Regions from separate parts of the Homo sapiens genome. Here all the other regions are linked to region 3. Evidence: promoter capture Hi-C in human tissues and cell types (Jung and others, 2019). All regions are on one chromosome and are shown on one strand. The core of a region is centred on a gene start or on the middle of the fragment in contact, and the rest is flanking DNA. Distances in the headings are between cores, read along the strand shown.

The links. The method cuts DNA at HindIII sites, captures the fragments that hold promoters and counts their contacts. A contact is called where the count stands out against the background at its distance.
Region 1: a fragment that was not itself captured here is called in contact with the fragment with the promoter of DZANK1 in region 3 in 5 of the 25 tissues and cell types used here (H1 embryonic stem cells, heart left ventricle, liver and 2 more).
Region 2: a contact is called between a fragment that was not itself captured here and the fragment with the promoter of DZANK1 in region 3, in 3 of the 25 tissues and cell types used here (IMR-90 fibroblasts, liver and spleen).
Region 4: a fragment that was not itself captured here is called in contact with the fragment with the promoter of DZANK1 in region 3 in 9 of the 25 tissues and cell types used here (H1 embryonic stem cells, IMR-90 fibroblasts, heart left ventricle and 6 more).

Annotation. Positions count from the first base shown.
Region 1 is chr20:18,535,153-18,538,211 of GRCh38, forward strand. SEC23B (SEC23 homolog B, COPII component) reads left to right here. Exons shown (of 20, transcript NM_006363.6): 12 at 501-590. Among named protein-coding and RNA genes, the nearest start is that of SEC23B, 29 kb to the left of the region's middle. The HindIII fragment of the contact is 5,606 bases long and covers 1-3,059 here.
Region 2 is chr20:18,395,428-18,398,404 of GRCh38, forward strand. DZANK1 (double zinc ribbon and ankyrin repeat domains 1) reads right to left here. Exons shown (of 21, transcript NM_001367614.1): 15 at 1,045-1,119. The region is part of intron 1 of LOC124904877 (a long non-coding RNA gene); the gene reads left to right. Among named protein-coding and RNA genes, the nearest start is that of LINC00851, 18 kb to the left of the region's middle. The HindIII fragment of the contact is 4,316 bases long and covers 1-2,977 here.
Region 3 is chr20:18,465,134-18,468,279 of GRCh38, forward strand. It overlaps DZANK1 (double zinc ribbon and ankyrin repeat domains 1), which reads right to left and starts at 1,897. Exons shown (of 21, transcript NM_001367614.1): 1 at 1,863-1,897; 2 at 117-244. The coding sequence starts at 225. It overlaps POLR3F (RNA polymerase III subunit F), which reads left to right and starts at 2,257. Exons shown (of 9, transcript NM_006466.4): 1 at 2,257-2,435. The coding sequence starts at 2,374. RefSeq lists enhancers at 1,777-2,395, 2,018-2,337. The HindIII fragment of the contact is 23,548 bases long and covers 1-3,146 here.
Region 4 is chr20:18,367,371-18,370,458 of GRCh38, forward strand. No RefSeq gene overlaps it. Among named protein-coding and RNA genes, the nearest start is that of ZNF133-AS1, 9.6 kb to the left of the region's middle. The HindIII fragment of the contact is 8,499 bases long and covers 1-3,088 here.

The sequences.
Region 1 (3,059 bases), core at 422-2,921, 70 kb after region 3:
TTTCAGCGTTATATACCATGTAGAGACACCCCCTGACACACCCACCCCCCCCCACACACACGTAGTATATGTGTAAACCCGGAACGATGGGTCACACCTGTAATCCCAACACTTTGGGAGGCTGAGGCGGGAGGATTGCTTGAACCCAGGAGGTCGAGGCTGCAGTGAGCTGTGATTGTGTCACGGCACTCCAGCCTGGGCAACAGAGTGAGAGACCATCTCAAAATAAATAAACATAAATAATATATATGTATAGTATATATGATGTAATAAAAATTGGTCAGAATGTTAATATAAAAAGCTTAATTTTAAAGTGTAAATGTAAATGTTAAGCCTTCATCTGTTCTCTTTTCAGGAGAAGGTTTTATTTCAACTTAAATGTTCTCCTAAAAGAAGATACTCTAAGTAGCCTGCCCTACTCAGTCAGTACTTTTCATTAGCAATTAACCACAGGGATGGTTTTCTGGTTTTGTTTTTCAAATTCCTCTTCCCACCCCCAGGAGCTTGGTGTTGGTGGCACGAGTCAGTGGAAAATCTGTGGCCTAGATCCTACATCTACACTTGGCATCTATTTTGAAGTTGTCAATCAGGTGAGTTGGATTTCTTCACATGTCTTCATGTCTTAGTGTCCTGTTTTGTGATTTATCTCAAACCAGTGGTCTCTGGTTACTTTCTTCACAAACCAATATTCCTTGGGTATTGTATTAGGCCTGATGATAGTCTGGCATGACCTTTTCTTATTTATTCCTTCAAGGGTTTAGTCGGAGTCAGGCAACAAATTACTTTTGTCCTTTTATTGTTGAACTGATAAGGTCATTAGAAGTGTAATAGATTTTACCAGTCATCATAATGTTGGTGAATTTTTTAGTGCATCGGTTCTTTCCCTAATATTTTATTATGAAAAATTCCAAACATACAGAAAAATTGAAAGAATTGTACGGTGAACACGTACTACCTAGGTGAACCCATCAACTTGATTCTGTAATTAACATTTTACTCTACTGGCATACCTTGGAAATACTGTGGGTTCAGTTCCAGACTACCACAATAAAGTGAATATTGCAATAAAGCAAGTCACATGAATATTTTGGTTTCCTATTGCATATAAAAGTTATGTTTGCACTATAGTATGTTAAGTGTTAAATAGCATTATGTCTTTGAAAACATTGTTCATTCTTGGATTAAAAAAATACTTTACAGTTGACCCTTGAGTAGTGTTGGGGTGCTGACACTGCATAGTTAAAAATCCACATATAACGGCCGGGTGCTGTGGCTCACGCCTGTAATCCCAGCACTTTGGGAGGCCGAGGCGGGCGGATCATGAGGTCAGGAGATCGAGACCATCCTGGCTAATATGGTGAAACCCTGTCTCTACTAAAAATACAAAAATTTAGCCAGGTGTGTTGGTGGGTGCCTGTAGTCCCAGCTACTTGGGAGGCTGAGGCAGGAGAATGGCGTGAACCCAGGAGGCAGAGCTTGCAGTGAGCCAAGATCGTGCCACTGCACTCCAGCCTGGGCAACAGAGCGAGACTCCATCTCAAAAAAAAAAAAAAATCCACATATAACTTTAACTCCCCCAAAACTTAACTACTAGTAGTCCACTGTTGACTGGGAACCTGACCGATAACAGTTGATTAACACATATTTTGTAAGTAATATATATTATGTCCTGTATTCTTACAATAAAGTAAGCTAGAGAAAAGAGAATGTTATTAAGAAAATCATAAGGGAAGGAAAGTGTATTTACTATTTGTTAAGTGGAAATGAACATCACAAAGTCTTCATACTCTCATCTTCATGTTCAGTAGGCTGAGGAGGAGGAGGAAGAGGAGGGTTTGGTCTTGCAGTCTTGGGTGGCAGAGGCAGAAGAAAATCCACATATAAGTGGACCTGTACAGTTCAAACCTGTGTTACTCATCATTAAAAAGTCAGGAAACAACAGGTGCTGGAGAGGATGTGGAGAAATAGGAACACTTTTACACTGTTGGTGGACTGTAAACTAGTTCAATCCTTGTGGAAGTCAGTGTGGCGATTCCTCAGGGATCTAGAACTAGAAATACCATTTGACCCAGCCATCCCATTACTGGGTATATACCCAAAGGACTATAAATCATGCTGCTATAAAGACACATGCACACGTATGTTTATTGTGGCTCTATTCACAATAGTAAAGACTTGGAACCAACCCAAATGTCCAACAATGATAGACTGGATTAAGAAAATGTGGCACATATACACCATGGAATACTATGCAGCCATAAAAAACGATGAGTTCATGTCCTTTGTAGGGACATGGATGAAATTGGAAATCATCATTCTCAGTAAACTATCGCAAGGACAAAAAAACACCGCATGTTCTCACTCATAGGTGGGAATTGGACATTGAGAACACATGGACACAGGAAGGGGAACATCACACTCTGGGGACTGTTGTGGGGTGGGGGAAGGGGGGAGGAATAACATTAGGAGATATAACTAATGCTAAATGATGAGTTAATGGGTACAGCACACCAGCATGGCACATGTATACATATGTAACTAACCTGCACATTGTGCACATGTACCCTAAAACTTAAAGTATAATAATAATAAAAAATAAATAAATAAATAAAAAAACCTGTGTTGCTCAAGGGTCAACTATATTGCTCAAAAATGTTAATGCTCATCTGATCCTTTAGTGAGTCATACTCTTTTGCTGGTGGAAGGTCTTACATTGATGTTGTTGGCTGCTGACTGATCAGGTTAGTAGTTGCTGAAGGCTGAGTGGCTGTGGCAGTTTCTTCTCTTTTTGTTTTTTTTTTAATTAAGACAAAGTCTTGTTCTATCACCCAGGCACGATCTATCACCCAGGCACGGTCTTGGCTCACTGCAACCTCCACCTCACAGGTTCAAGCCATTCTCCCACCCCAGCCTCCCGAGTAGCTAGGCTTACAGGTGCCAGCCACCATGTCTGGCTAGTTTTTGTATTTTTAGCAGAGACAAGGTTTTGCCACAATGGCCAGGCTGGTCTTGAACTGACCTCAAGTGATCTGCCTGCCTCAGCTCCCAAAGTGTTGGAA
Region 2 (2,977 bases), core at 339-2,838, 70 kb before region 3:
CTTGTGAGATAGCTAGCACATTGGAGGTGCTGCTGGTGGCCTGCCCCATTCCCACTAGCTGGCCAGGTTACTCACCCCAGCTGTTGTGTAGCTGCTAAGAGCTTACTGCTGGACCTCCTTCCCCAGCAAAGTGCCCTCAGTAGGTGGATGCTGCTTTGCCCTAGAGGTCATGCTCCCTCTCCTCCTTGCCTCAACTGGGGACAACTTTGTGGTTTAATTCATTCTCCAGAGTTCCCCTTGGATCAGGCTAAAGCTCAACTTTGCTTTTGTCTACCTGCTCATTCAGTCCCTTCCCCTTCCTTGACCTGCTTCTCTCACTTCCCTTCCCCTGAAGTTCCTCTCTGACCCAAGCTCTGCTCTAGTCACAACAATTAAAAAGAGCAGTTAGTGCTTTATTTGGTTTCAAAGCACATTCATGTGCATTAGCTCGTTAGATACTCCCAGCCTCCCCATGAGTTAGACAGGGCCCATGCTTCTATCCCAATTTCAACAACACCATTAGCACCTTGCCAGGGCCTAATAAATGTTAATTTCCCTCCTTTTCCTTGGCTTCTCAATTGATTGATTAATTATTCTGACTTTTTGTCCAGTGAAACTAAAGCTGCTAATGTCAATCAATTAATGTTTGAAACACATTTACAGGCTCTGTGGCAATGCCCCCGTCACCATATAAAAGGGAAGATCAAGGACACATGGCCACAAAGTTTGGTTTATTTTATAGAAGAAAATATGTCAAAGGGCATATCAGCAAATATTTTTGTTAGTCTTTCCCCAAATCAATTATATCACAGACATGCCATCAGACTTCAGTGAGTCTGAATAAGCCTGAGAACTACAGAACAACTCCTGTTCTCACTATATCTTCATGTGCCTGTCTGAGGTTTAACTTGTTTATCTAATTCTATGAAATTGCTTGCCTCTAGTAGCATTTCATAATGTGTGAAACTTTTCCTTTCTATGGATTACACAGAAGCATTTCTATAAATTGTCTCAATTTACTAATCGGTCAGTTCTCAAATGAATAACTTCTGGAGGCTTACTCACCTTGTTTGAGACTTGACTATAATTCAGTCTGATGCTAACTTCACAACCATCTTCGTGGACAGTAGCAGAGATAAGCTTTTAAAAGAGTTGTAGAGAGAATTCATAACTGTGGGTGTGGGACTCATTGCCTTAAGTAACAGTGTACAAATTCTGAGATGTCAAACTCTAAATTTAACCAAATATTTAATTAACACAGAAGAAAGTAGGAAAAGAAAAACAGAGCAACAAAAACTAGACGAGATAAATAGAAAACAAAGAACAAAATGGCAGATCCAAATCCAACCATATCTAAACTCTACTAATTATAAATAAACTACTCTAAAGAGACTGCCAAATTGAATAAAAAGGCAAGATCCAAATCTATGCATTCTTCAAGAGATGCACTTTAATCAAACTACATGACTAGATGTTATCACCTTGGAAAAGATATCCTGGTAGGGGGCGGGGACAGGGCTTGGTAATTAAGGGACAAGTATCACAGTTGAGCAGCTTTCTGTGTAAGTAGCAATAGGAATTTAGATTAAGCCAAGGGACAAGAAATGTTTTCATGAAGGGTCAGATAGTAAATATTTTAGGTCTTGTGGACCATATGTTCTGTATTGTGAATACTTTACTGTCATAGCACAAAGCAGCCACATAAGTAAAGGAATGGGTGCAGCTGTGATCCAATAAAATTTTATTTATAAAATTGGGCAGCGGGCCAGATTTGTCTCAACCGCCACAGTTTGCAGATCTCTGGATTAGGCTGAAGAAATTCATAAACTACCAAAATAGATTATCAAAGGAAATTGGGTAATACTGGAAAATGAGATCGTCTTGATGTTGGCCTATTTGGCAGCAGAAGAGTACACAGCCTATTTCATAAAGTTCCTTCTAGTCTTGCGACAAACAGAGGAAAGGTCCTCTCACAGAGCTGTCTTTTTATAATGGCAATGTAGTATCAAAGAAAGGACATGGGACTCTGACAGGGTCCGACAGATCTGCTTCAAATCTTGAACCCCATGAGACCCAGCAGTGTAGTCTTGGGCAGGTCACCAAACCTCTCTGAGCTTCAAAATTCCTGGGTGTCAAATAAGGCTTCTTCTGACTATCAACTGCGGTGTGAAAAACCACCCCAAACTTAGTGAAATTAAACCACCACCACTTTATTATGCTATGGATTCAGAGAGGGCATAGCAGAGATAGCTTGTCTTTGCTCCACATGTCTGAGGCCTCAGCTGGAAGACTCAAATGGCTAGAGGTGGTTGGATGTCTGGGGGCGGGAATCATCTAGAGTCTAGTCACTCATGTGGCTCATGAGCAGAGATGACTCGAGGACTGGGTTCAGCTGGCGCACCTACATGCGGCCACTCCATGTAGCTTGGGCTTCTCATAGCAGGGTGGCTGAGCTCCAAGAAGTGCTGGAGGTGAGTGTGCCAAGCAAGAGAAAGCCACATGACCTTATGTGGCCAAGCCCTGGAAGTCTCATGGCATCACTTCCATCATAGTCCGTTAGTCAAACAGTCACAGACCCGCCCAGATTCAAGGTGAGGGGACACAGATTCTACCATTTGAGGGGAAGACAGTCAAGGAATTTGTGGTTATTTTTTTTAAAGTGATCACAAAGGTAATACACCTCCCTTGCAGGTTTGCTGTGAAGGCAAGAATGATGAATACAATGCTGATGCTGGGTGCACTGTAAAATGGCAGCTGTTATGTCACTATTGCTATATATTAACAGTGTATGATTTAAGTGCACGATCTGGATGGATTAAATTGTTCTGGGACCTTTCATTCTGACTGTTAGAATTTCCAATGTGACATCTGAGCATGAGATGTTCAGAATTTTATTGTCTTAGGTCAGGTGCCCCAGAAGCAGACTCTGAGACAATATTCATGTGCAAGTGATTTATTAGAGCAGAGCTCACAAGGCAGAAGAGTAAGAAAGTGTAGA
Region 3 (3,146 bases), core at 647-3,146:
TCCCAAAAAGCTGAGCAAAGAGTGAGAAAGCAGGCAAAGAGATAAACCAGCAACCAGATAACACAAGAAATATGACAATGTTATTTTAAACAATTTCAAACATATGTGATTCTTACCTGATTTCATTTCCAAAAGCGTATTGTTATCAATTTCATGGTTAGCTTTTCCAGGCTGAGGCACTCGTAATGGTATGATCTGAGGGACACACACTGAACCAGCAGTCATTTTCTCTCTCTCTCTCTCTCTCTATATATATATACATATAAATTCCAATGTACACAAAAGCTGAAGAGCAGCACTTAATTTAAATGCAGCAAAACTAGTTAAAACGAGAGAATACTGTTAACATGGCACTACAAATATTATTCCCTTTTTAATTGAAATAATAATTACATTTCATCTGTATTTGCTGTTGAGGTCTTGTGTGGGGTTTTGATTATCTAAATACCTCACTTCTGCGAAAGGAGCATGAATGAATGAGATGGGGAAAAGAAAGAAGTTACTTTAAAAGGACAAATTAAATGAGTAAGGCAAAACAGAGACTATCACTAACGCTCTGACTTGAGTTCCCTGTAAATCATTATCGCCTTTTCCTGCCTCTGGTGTGTGTCAGCTCTCTTGGCTTCAGGGCAAGTCATCATACAAGGGGAACAGAAGTAATTCTGTGTGTACCACAAAATGTTAGTTAGAGCTAACTTTTTTGGGAAAGCTCCGGGTTCACAGCCTTGCCATTATCACCAGAGCAGTTCTAGTATTTGAAAGCTGCAAAGACACTTTAGAAGGACTGCAGAGTACTACTTCTCAGTGGAAAGGAAGTTTGCAAGAATATAAACAGTGACCAATAAACACAAGCCTCCCGTTTCATCTACTGTATTTATAAATCCTGGTATTAATAATTAACTACCAGTATGAAAGCCTTACTGGTCTTTTTGGAGGTGAGGGTGGGGAGGAAGGTTGTCATAATTAATGCACAGAAGGTTTCAGGGGGAAAAAACGCTCACCTTAACACAACAACCATTTACATCTCTGTATTGCCTTTTCAAATTTCATTAATAATCCATAGATTTTGCCCAATTATAATCTACATATTCATTCCATTTTTATAGTCTACTTCTTGCATTCTCACTGTATTATTTAGTTTTCCCTGTACTTATTTATCCATTTGTGGCTGGGCATTTAGGCTATTTCTAGTTTCTTTTTAGTTTTGCCTGTTGCAGTTCTAATAATGCTGATCTGAACATGTCTGCAGTTTGAGCTTTGTCACAGACTGTATTCTCAAAAATGGGGTACCTAAATTTAAGGGGTGAACTTAATGCCTTGTTGGATAGTTCCGGATCTAGGGCCAAGAATATAAACTACAGATACTGACAGCACAACAATAGCTCCTACGGGAGTGTGGCTGGACTTGAGACTTGCCCATAGTCGCATTTCCATTTAAGTGAAAGGCAGATAAAATAAAAGTAGTTGAAAAATTCTAAATAAAAAATATGTAGGAGAGGAAGTAATTCGCGAGCGTCAACTAGCAGCTGCCCTTAGGAAGCTGGGGTGGCCAGTGGGCCCCACGCAAAGGGAATCAAGAAAAAAGGCGGATCCGCCAGGCCCAAATGGCAACGTGCAGTCAACAGGATCCCCAGACCCCTCAACTCTCCCAACGTGGACCGCCCCCTCGCAGCCCGGATCCGGAATCCCGTTTGGTTGTTCCCGCCCATCAGGGGCTGCCAAGGACACCTGCATCCTTTCGGCTGGAGTAAGGGAAGCTCTTCCCCTCCTCTAGCCGCCCTCCTCTTCCTCTAACCGCGGGGCCCGGGATCGGGACCCCTAATGCATCTCTGCCGCGCCCAACCCAGTCGCCAGCCTCTCACCGCCTCTTGCCTCCTCCTTCGCCGCCGCCCGGGTTACCACAGACGCGGCGAGCCGCGCCCCGCCCACTGGGTGCTGGGCAGATGATTGGTGGAGACTCAGCTTCTTAGCAACTAGACCGGCCCCTGCCGCTCCGCAGGGAGCCTGGTACCCGCCTGGAGTTCCTTTCCCAGTGCTTTCCCATAGGCATCTAAGAATATTCCTTCACAGAGTTGCCAAGTGCTAAAAGTTGGTTTCCCAACTCAGAATGAAGGAACCAGGCTTGTGCGTCCGATGGGCATTGACATTCTGGAAAACAAGAATAAGAAGCTGTAGCGGCGCCTGTAAGTGGGCCGGAGCAGGCGCAGCTTGGCCACCTCCCGCCGAAAGGCAAGGAAGGACCGGCTGCGACACGAGGAAGAAGGCCCCTCGGCCTCAGCAGAGCGCTATCCTCCACTGGTTCCCCGGGTTCCCCGGCTTGCTACCGGGCTGCTCCGTGCATCTTTCCCCCCAGGCGTCAGGAACTGCGCCCTCATGGCGGAGGTGAAGGTGAAGGTGCAGCCGCCTGACGCGGATCCGGTCGAAATAGAAAACAGGTAAACCAGTGAGGCTCCGGCTTGGCACTCCATCAGGCGCCCAGTCATTTGGGCAGCTGGACCCCTTCTCCGGGATCCCTTGGGAGTGGCCGGAGCGGGTTAGGTGAGCACGCGGGAAAAACGATTGCGGGGTTCTGGACCCACTTGTTCCTTCCCATCCTGGGAGAGCAGAACTCAAGAAGTTCAAAATGGGTTTGACAGCTTGCAACTTTGTGTAGCTGGCTGGCTTTGCCCTGATACTTTTGGGGAAGTTGTGATGACGTGCTGCCTTCCTACTTTGACGCGATCAGTGCTTTGAGAGGAGCCCTCGGCTTTCTTTCCCTGTAGAACACTTGTGAATACATGTTCTGATCCAGGATCGCTCTTGTCACTAAGGGAACGTCTATGACAAAACGTTTAGGCGGAGTTAGGGCGCAGTTGGTGATTACGAAGTAACATTAAGCCAGGTGGTTTCAGTGCAGTATTGAACTCAAGACTTTTAGGACACCCAAAGCCTCTGCCACTTTTATTTTTATTTGTTTGTTTGTGAGACAGAGTCTCGCTCTGTCGCCAGGCTGGAGTGCAGTGGCGCGATCTCGGTTCACTGCAATCTCCGCCTCCCGGGTTCAAGCGATTCCCCTGCCTTAGCCTCCCGAGTAGCTGGGACTACAGGCTCGCGCCACCACGCCCAGCTAATTTTTTATGTTTTAGTAGAGACGGGGTTTCACCATG
Region 4 (3,088 bases), core at 276-2,775, 98 kb before region 3:
GTTCAAGAATGCCTCTCCCTGCTGGAGATTTAATCATGTTTGGGAAAGGTTTCCCCAAATCCCAAATTTCCCCTTTTTCTCTTCTCTGTTTGATGGGGTTGCAGGGAGGAAGTTTCTGCTGAGGAGAGGCAAGATACAGGGGAGAAAGTGGAGGTTGAGGGTGGAGAGGAAAAAAATTGTTAGTATTGTTTGGATCAGTAGTAAAATTTCTGAGGCTCTCACTACATTGGGAAGGAATAATTTAAAAACTGAGCCATTTATCACCACCCATTAAATCAGGGGCCTGGGAACTGACACTCATAAAAATTAAAATAAATAAATATTGAATTAATGTCTGCTAAACTTTTTTTTAATCAAGGTAATTAATGAATGAACTAATACCTCTCTACTTCTGAATAATTTCCTTGGTTTCAATTTCATTTAGTTCTGCTCTGATCTTTGTTATTTTGTTTCTTCTGCTAGCTTTGGGATTGCTTTCTTCTTGCTCTTTTTAGTTCCTTGAGATGTGACACTAGGTTGTTAATTCGTGATTTTTTTTTTTTTTAGAGACAGGGTCTTGCTATGTTGCCCAGGCTGATCTGAAACTCCTGGGCTCAAGCAATCCTCCTGCCTTGGTCTCCCAAAGTGCTGGGATTACAGAGTGAACTATTTTTTTGAAGTAGGCATTTAATGCTATAAATTTTCCTCTTAGCACTGCTTTTGCTGTATTCCAGAGGTTTTACTATGTTGTGTCTCCATTTTCATTTGTTTCAAAACATTTTAAAATTTCCATCTTAATTTAATTATTAATTCAAAGATCATTTAGAAATGTGTTGTTTAATTTTCAGGTATTTGTGTAGTTTCACAAGTTCCTCTTGGTATTGATTTCCAGTTTTATTCTGCTATGGTCTGAGAAGATACTTGATACAATTTCAATTTTTTAAACTATACTTTAAGTTCTGGGATACATGTGCAGAACATGCAGGTTTGCTACATAGGCATACATGTGCCGTGGTGGTTTGCTGCACCCATCAACCCATCATCTACATTAGGTATTTCTTTTTTAAAAATGTATTGAGACTTGTTTGATGAACTAACACATGGTCTGTCTTGGAGCATGTACCATGTGCCGATGAGAAGAATTTATGTTCTGCAGTTGTTAGGTAGAAGGTTCTGTAAATGTTTATTAGGTCCATTTAAAGTCCAACTTAAGTCCAGTGTTTCTTTGTTAATTTTCTGTTTTGATAATCTGTCTAGTGTTGTGAGTGGGGTATTGAAATCCCCTCCCCACAGCTTATGATTTATTGCTGTCTATCTCTTTCTTTAGGTCTAGTAATATTTGTTTTATGATTCTGGGTGCTCCAGTGTTAGATGCATATATATTTAGGATTGTTATCCACTTGTTGAAGTGATCCTTTTATCATTATGTAAGACCTTGTCTTTTTTTATTCTGTTTTTTATTTAAAGTCCATTTCATCTGACACAAGTATAGCTACTTCTGCTCACCTCTGATTTCCATTTGCTTGGAATATTTTTTCCATCTCTTTACCTTCAGTTTATAAGCATCTTTATCAGTATGGTTAATTTCTTGTAAGCAGCATATAGTTGGTGCAGGCTTTTCTTATCTATTTTACCCATCTGTATCTTTTAAGTGGAGCACTTGGCCCATTTATATTCAACATTAATATTGATATGTGAGGTTTCATTCCTGACATAATGTTAATTGTTATCTAGTATTTTTTGTGGGTTTTTTTTTCTTAATCTGCTTGTCTTTGTGGTCTAGAACCAAAAACGAGCCTGAATTCAAAGCAAACCTAAGCAAAAAGAACAAAGCTAGAAGCATCACATTACCTGAGTTATACTACAAGGCTACACTAACCAAAGCAGCATGGTCTGGTATAAAAATAAATGTACAGATGAATGGAATAGAATAGGAGCCCAGAAATAAAGCCACATATCTAAAGCCAGCTGATCTTTGACAAAGTTGACAAAAACATACGCTGGGGGGAAAGACACCCTTTTCAATAAATGTGGCTGGGAAAACTGGATTGTCACATGCAGAAGAATGAAACTAGACTCCCTAATACCCACCATATACAAAAATAAATTCAAGCCTATAGTCCCAGCTAATCAGGAGTCTGAGGCAGGAGGTTGAGATGGCAGTGAGCCATGATCCTGCCACTGTACTCCAGCTTGAGTGACAGAGCAAGACCCTGCCTCAAAAATTAAAAAAAAAAAACTCAAGATGGATTAAAGACCTAAATATAAAAGCAGAAACTGAAAAAATTATAAGAATTCCTAGGGAAAACTTTTCTGGTCAAAGCAAAGAATTCCTGACTAAGACATCAAAAGCACAGGAAACAAAAACAAAAATTGACAAATGAAACTTAATTAAACTAAGAAGTTTTTGCATAGCAAAAGAAATAATCAACAGAGTGAACAATCTGCAGAACAAGAGAAAATATTTGCACACTATACATCCAATAGGAGAGTAATATCCAGAATTTACAAGAGGTTCAAACAACTCAACAAAAACCTCTCAACTCTATTAAAAAGTGGGCAAAGATTTTGCCACATTTTCTTAATCCAGTCTATCATTGTTGGACATTTGGGTTGGTTCCAAGTTTTTGCTATTGTTTTGGAATACTATGCAGCCATAAAAAATGATGAGTTCATGTCCTTTGTAGGGACATGGATGAAGCTGGAAACCATCATTCTCAGCAAACTATTGCAAGGACAAAAAACCAAACACCGCATGTTCTCACTCATAGATGGGAATTGAACAATGAGAACACATGGACACAGGAAGGGGAACATCACACACTGGGGCCTGTTGTGGGGGGGGGGGCGGGGGGAGGGATAGCATTAGGAGATATACCTAATGTTAAATGATGAGTTAATGGGTGCAGCACACCAACATGGCACATGTATACATATGTACTAACCTGCATGTTGTGCACATGTACCCTAAAACTTAAAGTATAATAAAAAAAGTGTCAACTATGACAATATCATACACTAATTTGACTGCCCTAAAAATCTCCTGTAATCCACATATTCTTCCCTTTCTTCTTCCCCCGAACCCCTGTTAATCACTGATCTTTTAATT